2 separate regions of the Homo sapiens genome follow, and region 2 is linked to region 1. Evidence: promoter capture Hi-C in human tissues and cell types (Jung and others, 2019). All regions are on one chromosome and are shown on one strand. The core of a region is centred on a gene start or on the middle of the fragment in contact, and the rest is flanking DNA. Distances in the headings are between cores, read along the strand shown.

The links. Contacts are between HindIII fragments. The study calls those that stand out against the background at their distance.
Region 2: a fragment that was not itself captured here is called in contact with the fragment with the promoter of ZBTB26 in region 1 in 3 of the 25 tissues and cell types used here (aorta, bladder and mesenchymal stem cells).

Annotation. Positions count from the first base shown.
Region 1 is chr9:122,930,243-122,933,488 of GRCh38, reverse strand. ZBTB26 (zinc finger and BTB domain containing 26) reads left to right here and starts at 1,977. Exons shown (of 2, transcript NM_020924.4): 1 at 1,977-2,052. It also overlaps a transcript of RABGAP1 not described here. RefSeq lists a silencer at 1,866-2,205. The HindIII fragment of the contact is 7,569 bases long and covers 1-3,246 here.
Region 2 is chr9:123,041,594-123,044,898 of GRCh38, reverse strand. The region is part of intron 13 of RABGAP1 (RAB GTPase activating protein 1); the gene reads right to left. It also overlaps a transcript of GPR21 not described here. Among named protein-coding and RNA genes, the nearest start is that of GPR21, 9.6 kb to the right of the region's middle. The HindIII fragment of the contact is 4,214 bases long and covers 1-3,305 here.

The sequences.
Region 1 (3,246 bases), core at 728-3,227:
CAGTGAGACTCCCTCGCAAATAATAATAATAATAATAATAATAATAATTTAATGAAAAAAGATATAACATGCAAATAGTTACTGAAAAAGAGCTGATGTAGTTATACTACCATTAGACAAAATAGATTTTAAAATTTGAAAAGGTTATAAGAGACAAAGACATTATATATTAATAAAAGGCTCATTACAACAAGATTATATAAAAATTATAGGCATTTACCTCGCTAGGAACAGACTCTCAAAATACATGAAGCAAAAATGGACAGAATTAAAAGGAGAAATAAACAGTTCTACAATAATAGTGGGAGACTACAATACCCCATTTTCAGTAACGGGGAGAAGAATCAGATAGAAGATAAGTGAGGAAATAGAGGAACTAAGCATCATAATAAACCAGCTATACTTAAAAGACATATACAGAACATTCCACCCAGCAAGAGCAGAATACACATTCTTCTCTAAAGCACATGAGGTATTCACCAGACTGTATGCCACAATTCAAGTTTCATAATATTTTACAAGATAGATATCATACAAAGTATCTTCTCGGACCACACAGATGAAGTTATAAATTAATAACAGAAGGAAAACTGGAAAAGTCACAAATATCTGAAAGTTAAACAACACTCTTAACAACTGGGTCAAAGAAGAAATCAAGGTCAGGCACGGTGGCTCACACCTGTAATCCCAGCACTTTGGGAGGCCAAGGCGGGTGGATCACCTGAGGTCGGGAGTTCGACACCAGCCTGACCAACACGGAGAAACCACGTCTCCATATCTCTAAATATCAAATTAGCCCGGTGTGGTGGCGCATGCCTGTAATCCCAGCTACTTTAGAGACGGAGGCAGGAGAACCGCTTGAACCCAGGAGGCGGAGGTTGCGGTGAGCCGAGATCACACCATTGCACTCCAGCCTGGGCAACAAGAGCGAAACTCCATCTCAAAAAAAAGAAAAAAAAAGAAGAAGAAATCAAAAGGGAAATTAGAAAATACTTAGAAATGAATGAAAATAACACAACATACAAAAACTTATGAGCTGTAGTGAAAACAGTGATCAAAGTGAAATGTATAGTTGTAAATAACTACATTAAAAAGAGGGAAAGGCTGGGAGCAGTGGCTCACACATGTAATCCCAGCACTTTGGGAGGCTGAGGAGGGTGGATCACTTTAACTCCAGAGTTCAAGACCATCAAGTTTTACACTTACAAATGATTAAAGTAATAAACATTACGCATGTTTTACCTCAATAAAAAGCCCCTCACCACCACCAAAAACGAAAAGAATGGTCAAAAACCAGTAAACTGGATTGGCAAGGAAAAGAACTCTAGAAGGATCCTCAAGTTTTCCGGTCTGGATAGGAGATGAGATGAACTTGAGATCATTAAAAGGTACTTTCACATCAGGACAGCTGGAGATCTCGTCCATGTAGCTGCCTGGGTTGTGAATGGTCAGCATGAAGTAGGTAACGGAAGCCATGGGAGTGCAAGAGTTTGCCCTAGGAAGAACTCCAAGGCAAGAACCCTGAAAAACACATCCAAAAGTGAGGGGAGAGCTTTCTGCTCTTCGGGCTCCCGCGCGACGAGTCTACACCCCTAGGCTAAAAAGACTTACCAAAGTTTAAGTGCAGAGGAGCCCTTCAGGCCCAAGGAGGCAGCGGACCGTCTAGGCCCAGCTACAGAAGAGCCGCTGAGACGGGGGTCCCGAGCAGCGGGTCCCTGCGAGGCGCACAGGGCCTGAGCCACAGACGCTTACGAGCTAAGGCACCTCGGGGTAGTAGGCAGTGAAGCTAGTGCCCAGAGTACGGTGCCCTCCGTCTGCGCCCCGCCCACAACGCAGAAATTCCCTCTCGGGGCCCCTGTTGTCCTCCGAGCCTTCCGATTGGCGGAGAGGACCATGGGACCTGGAAGTTGTCTTTGTCCGGCCAGGGCTGCCCTTCCGGTTCCGTTGGGTCCCCCTTTGGCTCGGGTTCCTTGCCCCTCCCCCTTCCCGGAGCCCCGAGGGGCCGGAGCTCCTGGCGGTGCCGGATCCTGACGGCGGCCTTCCCCCGGGTCTGTAAGTGCGGAGACGGCCGGAGCGGCGGGCTGGGGTGCGGGGTGTCTCAAAATGGAACCCCCCTGGGGCCCTGGATCAACCGGGACCTGCACTGGGATGGGAGCCGAGAGGCTGGCCTAGGCCCCTGGGGACTTGAGGAGCCCTTGGCCCGGCCCACGCTGCGCCCCGCCCCTTTCCCTTCCCTGTGACTGGAGTGGGGAGCCTGAGGATGCCCCTGGGACCGCCTCATAGGACCCCAGCTGAGGGCCCAGCAGTTGGCTTGGGGGCCTGACTCTGGCATCTTATAAGAAGTGCCAGAGGTGAGGCCCTAAGAAAACGAGCCTCGGGAGCCAGCCCAAGACCAGGCATTCAGTGCCAGTCTTTGAGAACCACTGTGAGTGCTAGGTTACCCTTTTGCTGGGGTTTTCCCCTATTTGGCCACTGGTCGCAGCACCTTTTATATTACTGGCGCTATACCAGACACTGGAGATTGGCAAGATATTGTTCCAGTTTTCGGGATTAAGTTTGGGAGCCAGATCTGAACAAATAAGTACTCCTATGTGTATATATATGTATGTATGTATCAGTCACATATGTGTTAATTGCTCAAGGGGCCGTTGCTGAGAAGGCTTTAGAAAGAAAGTGATGTCTGAATTGTACTTGGAGAGAGTAAAGTGTTGAAGAGTTTTTCAGGGAAGACAGTTGCAATACTGTGGAGAAATGACTGAGCATAACTTGTGTGGGAAGAGGAGGAAATGGGGGGACTCCTATGCACAGAATGGATATGAGACTGGGAAAGTCGACCGAGGTCCAGATGGTGAATGGTGTAATCCTAAAGGAGATGGGTAGTTTTTTGAAGAGTTCGGAACAGAATATTGATATGGTCAGATTTGCACTGCAGGAAATCATTTTGTTCTGTAGAAAGCCCATAGAGAAGGGACTTTCTATTAACTGCATTTAGACATTTAGCTAAAAGTTAGGAACGCTTATCGGAGATTCTTTTGAAGGGGTAATGGGATCAGCCTAGTGAGAGGCAAAAAATTCCTGAAATAAGTTATAATGGTGTCATTGGTAAGGAGACAAATATACTGGAGATGATTATGTCAAGACTCCATAATTAACTGAATGCTGAAGAAGTGTGAGGGACCAAATCTAATTCTTAGGTTTTAGACCTCTGAGCTGAAGGATGGTAATGCCATTATCAGAAATAAAGCC
Region 2 (3,305 bases), core at 639-3,138, 110 kb before region 1:
TGGATACTTTACGAAATCTCATTCAAGGAGGGGGTCTGGGGTGAGGAGAGGAATCAGACTATAGGAATTCTACTCCACCCTGAGCCTAGCCCATCTCTCACACTGCCTTCTAAGGAAATCTATTTAACAGGCACCTCCTTGCCTTTGAACACTACATGGCATTTTGCATTCCTCTCATCATTTCACAATACCATGTCTTGTATTATACTCATGTACCAGCACACATACTCATATACATACACATACACACACACACACACACACACACACACGTACGTGTGTTTTCCTATATTCCTTCCCACGATGTCAAAGAAGGATGCATTCCAGCACCTTCTGTCTTCTCTTGGTAAAAAACAAAATTACAAAATCTGAAAAGTTCCAAACAGACACCTATGGAGGCGTAGTGATACAGCAGACTGGAAACCAAAAAGGTCTTAAAGACCCAAAACTCCATTCCCATAATTGGAAAAGAGGGACAATATTAACTTTGCCTATACTTCTAGGGGGATTAAATGAGACAATTAATAGGAAATGGCTTTGTAAAGAACCATAGGTAAAATAGTGCTATTATGCCCCCATTTACTATTTCAGTAATGTTCTATACCTGGGCCTCCTTCCCGATTTCCCTTTACTTCTGTTAAAATACATCTCTTTTCCTAAATGTGGTCTACACTTTTCATAGAAAATAATACACCTGGCTGGGCGCGGTGGCTCACGCCTGTAATCCTACCACTTTGGGAGGCCGAGATGGGCGGATCACGAGGTCAGAAGATCGAGACCATCCTGGATAACATGGTGAAACCCCGTCTCTACTAAAAATACAAAAAAAAACTAGCCATGCATGGTGGTGGGCGCCTGTAGTCCCAGCTACTCGGGAGGCTGAGGCAGGAGAATGGCCTGAACCCGGGAGGCGGAGCTTGCAGTGAGCCGAGATCGCGCCATTGCACTCCAGCCTGGGTGACTGAGTGAGACTCCGTCTCAAAAAAAAAAAAAAAAAAGAAAATAATACACCTACGTAAGTGAAAAGGTCAAACAGTACAAAGCTTACAATGAAATTCCCTTCACTCTTCATACCCTATTCCTTAGAGGCAACCATTTTCACCTCTCCTTTTTTTAAAGCTGTTTGTTTTTAATTCATACTTCTGAATAAAATGCTTAAGTTGCTATTTTCTGGGTTTTTCCACTTTAGACATCAGTTTCAGAGTTTACACTATGGAAGATGCTACTGTAGCTCTGTTACACCCACCCTCCTTCCCCTCACCCCCCAAACACTTCCCTTCCCCTCACCCTGTCAACAGTGTTGCTATCATTTTTGGCTAAACACCAAACTATACACAGCAACACATAACTGAATCAGAGTATGTCATGATCTTATTTCCTTTCTTCAATTTTCTATTTTTTTCTGAAGTTATTAATTGCCTATCTTTTTCTTTTCCTTGGTTTTCTATGTATCTATCACCAATTCTTCCCCTAAAAATCTCACAAAACTAAATTCTTCTCACCATGGTGAAAATCCCAACTATATTTTCCTAGAGACATACCTCCTAGTGCCTTCTTTGTTCCTGCTCCTATTTAGACTGGCTGCTCTCTAGGTCTCCTGCATAGTTGCTTTCGTAGAGCTTTCCTTCCTGTGGGAATTGTTTTCACCATCCTCCTGTGTCAGAGACCCTGTTTCCTGGATTCTGTATCTCTTTATTTATTTCCTCCCTCATTCTGGAGAAGCATATCCTTCAGTAACTTCCCGAGAAAGTACGTTAAGGCAGGTGAATATTTTGTGATTTTGCAGACCTCAAAATGAGTTTAGTTTACCCTCACACTTGAATGACAGTTTGGGCATAAAATTGTGGGTTGGAAATCACTTCTCCTCAAAATTCTGAAGCTATTACCCATTATCTTCTAGCTTTATTGTGGCAAAAAGTCCTCTGCTACTCAAATCCCTATACTTTGTATGTTTAGACTCCACCATCCATGCCCCACCCCATTCAAGAAGCTTTTAGGAATTTTTATCCCCATTGTTCTGAAATTTTATAACAATTTGCCATCATGTGAATCTTTTTATTACACTGAAATGGGCCTTTTCATTATGAAAACACGTATCTTTCAGCACTGGAAAATTTTCTTGTGATATTTATTAATTTCTTCCTTTCTTTTCCTCTATTCTGTTTCTGAAGATTCTGTTAGTCAGCTATTGGGTTCCCTGATTAAACCTCCGACTGTTTTGCTTTTTCATCTATTTTCTGTCTCTCTGCCTTTTTGTTTCACTATCTGACCTACTTCATTTTCTAGCCTGCTTACTGAAACAAACAAAAAAATTATTATACTTTAAATTGCAAGAGTTCTTTCTTGTTCTCTTCCTATTCATTTTTACTGCACTCTGTTCTCCCCTGCTTTAATGGATACAAAATCTTCTCTGAGAATGTTAGTTACAGTTGGGTTTTTTGGTTGTTTTCTTCAGCAACCTATATTCTTTCTGTTTCTTCTGATTTCTGTCATTTGCTTGATTGTTTTGGGCTCTGTACTTTATGTGAGAACTTTTTCTCAAAAGTGCAATTATCTCTGGCTGTCTGTTAATATTAAAAGTGAAGCAATAAAAAACTGTGAGCTCTGTGTGCATGGGTGGGATGTGTTGATTGATGGGCATCACCTTAAAGTGACCAGGCAGGGAATGTGGCTATTTTGTTTCTGAGCCCTCAAATGTCAGCCCCGAGAATACACTCCTCTCATATCCTGCTTAGAACATTCTGAGAGTGTAGTGTGGTAAGGGGGCTGATTATTTAACACACAGACTTTCTTACAGCAGTCATGTTTGCAACAAAGCACACCTTTAGTTCCATTCTCAGCTATGCCTGGCATCTAGAGTGGTTCAGCTTTTCCAAAGAGTAAATCTCCCACCTTCTGCTGCAATGGTGAAAACCAGTTGCCTGCTTGGGATGGGGATTCAGGTGGGATGGGGATTCAGGTGGGATGGGGAAGAGGAGTAAGGGGTGATGATGTCTAAATATTCCTTATATAAACTTTCTATCAATTACTCTGTTTTTCAGCTTCTATCAATTCTTGTTTTTTAGTCTCTATGCTTATAGGGACATCTTAGCAATCCAATTCCCAAGTAGTTACTGTGGTCAATAGACAAATCAGGCTGTTTCTTTTTGCTCCTCTTCCTCATTTGACTTTAGAAAGCAGCTCTGTTGATTCCGCTGAGTCAGTTACTACTCGTCCACTGAATTTCCATATTCCAAAATTCTGCTGGCATCACTGTCTGTCATCATCTCTGTTCTCCTTCTTTTTATCCATATTATACCTTTGCT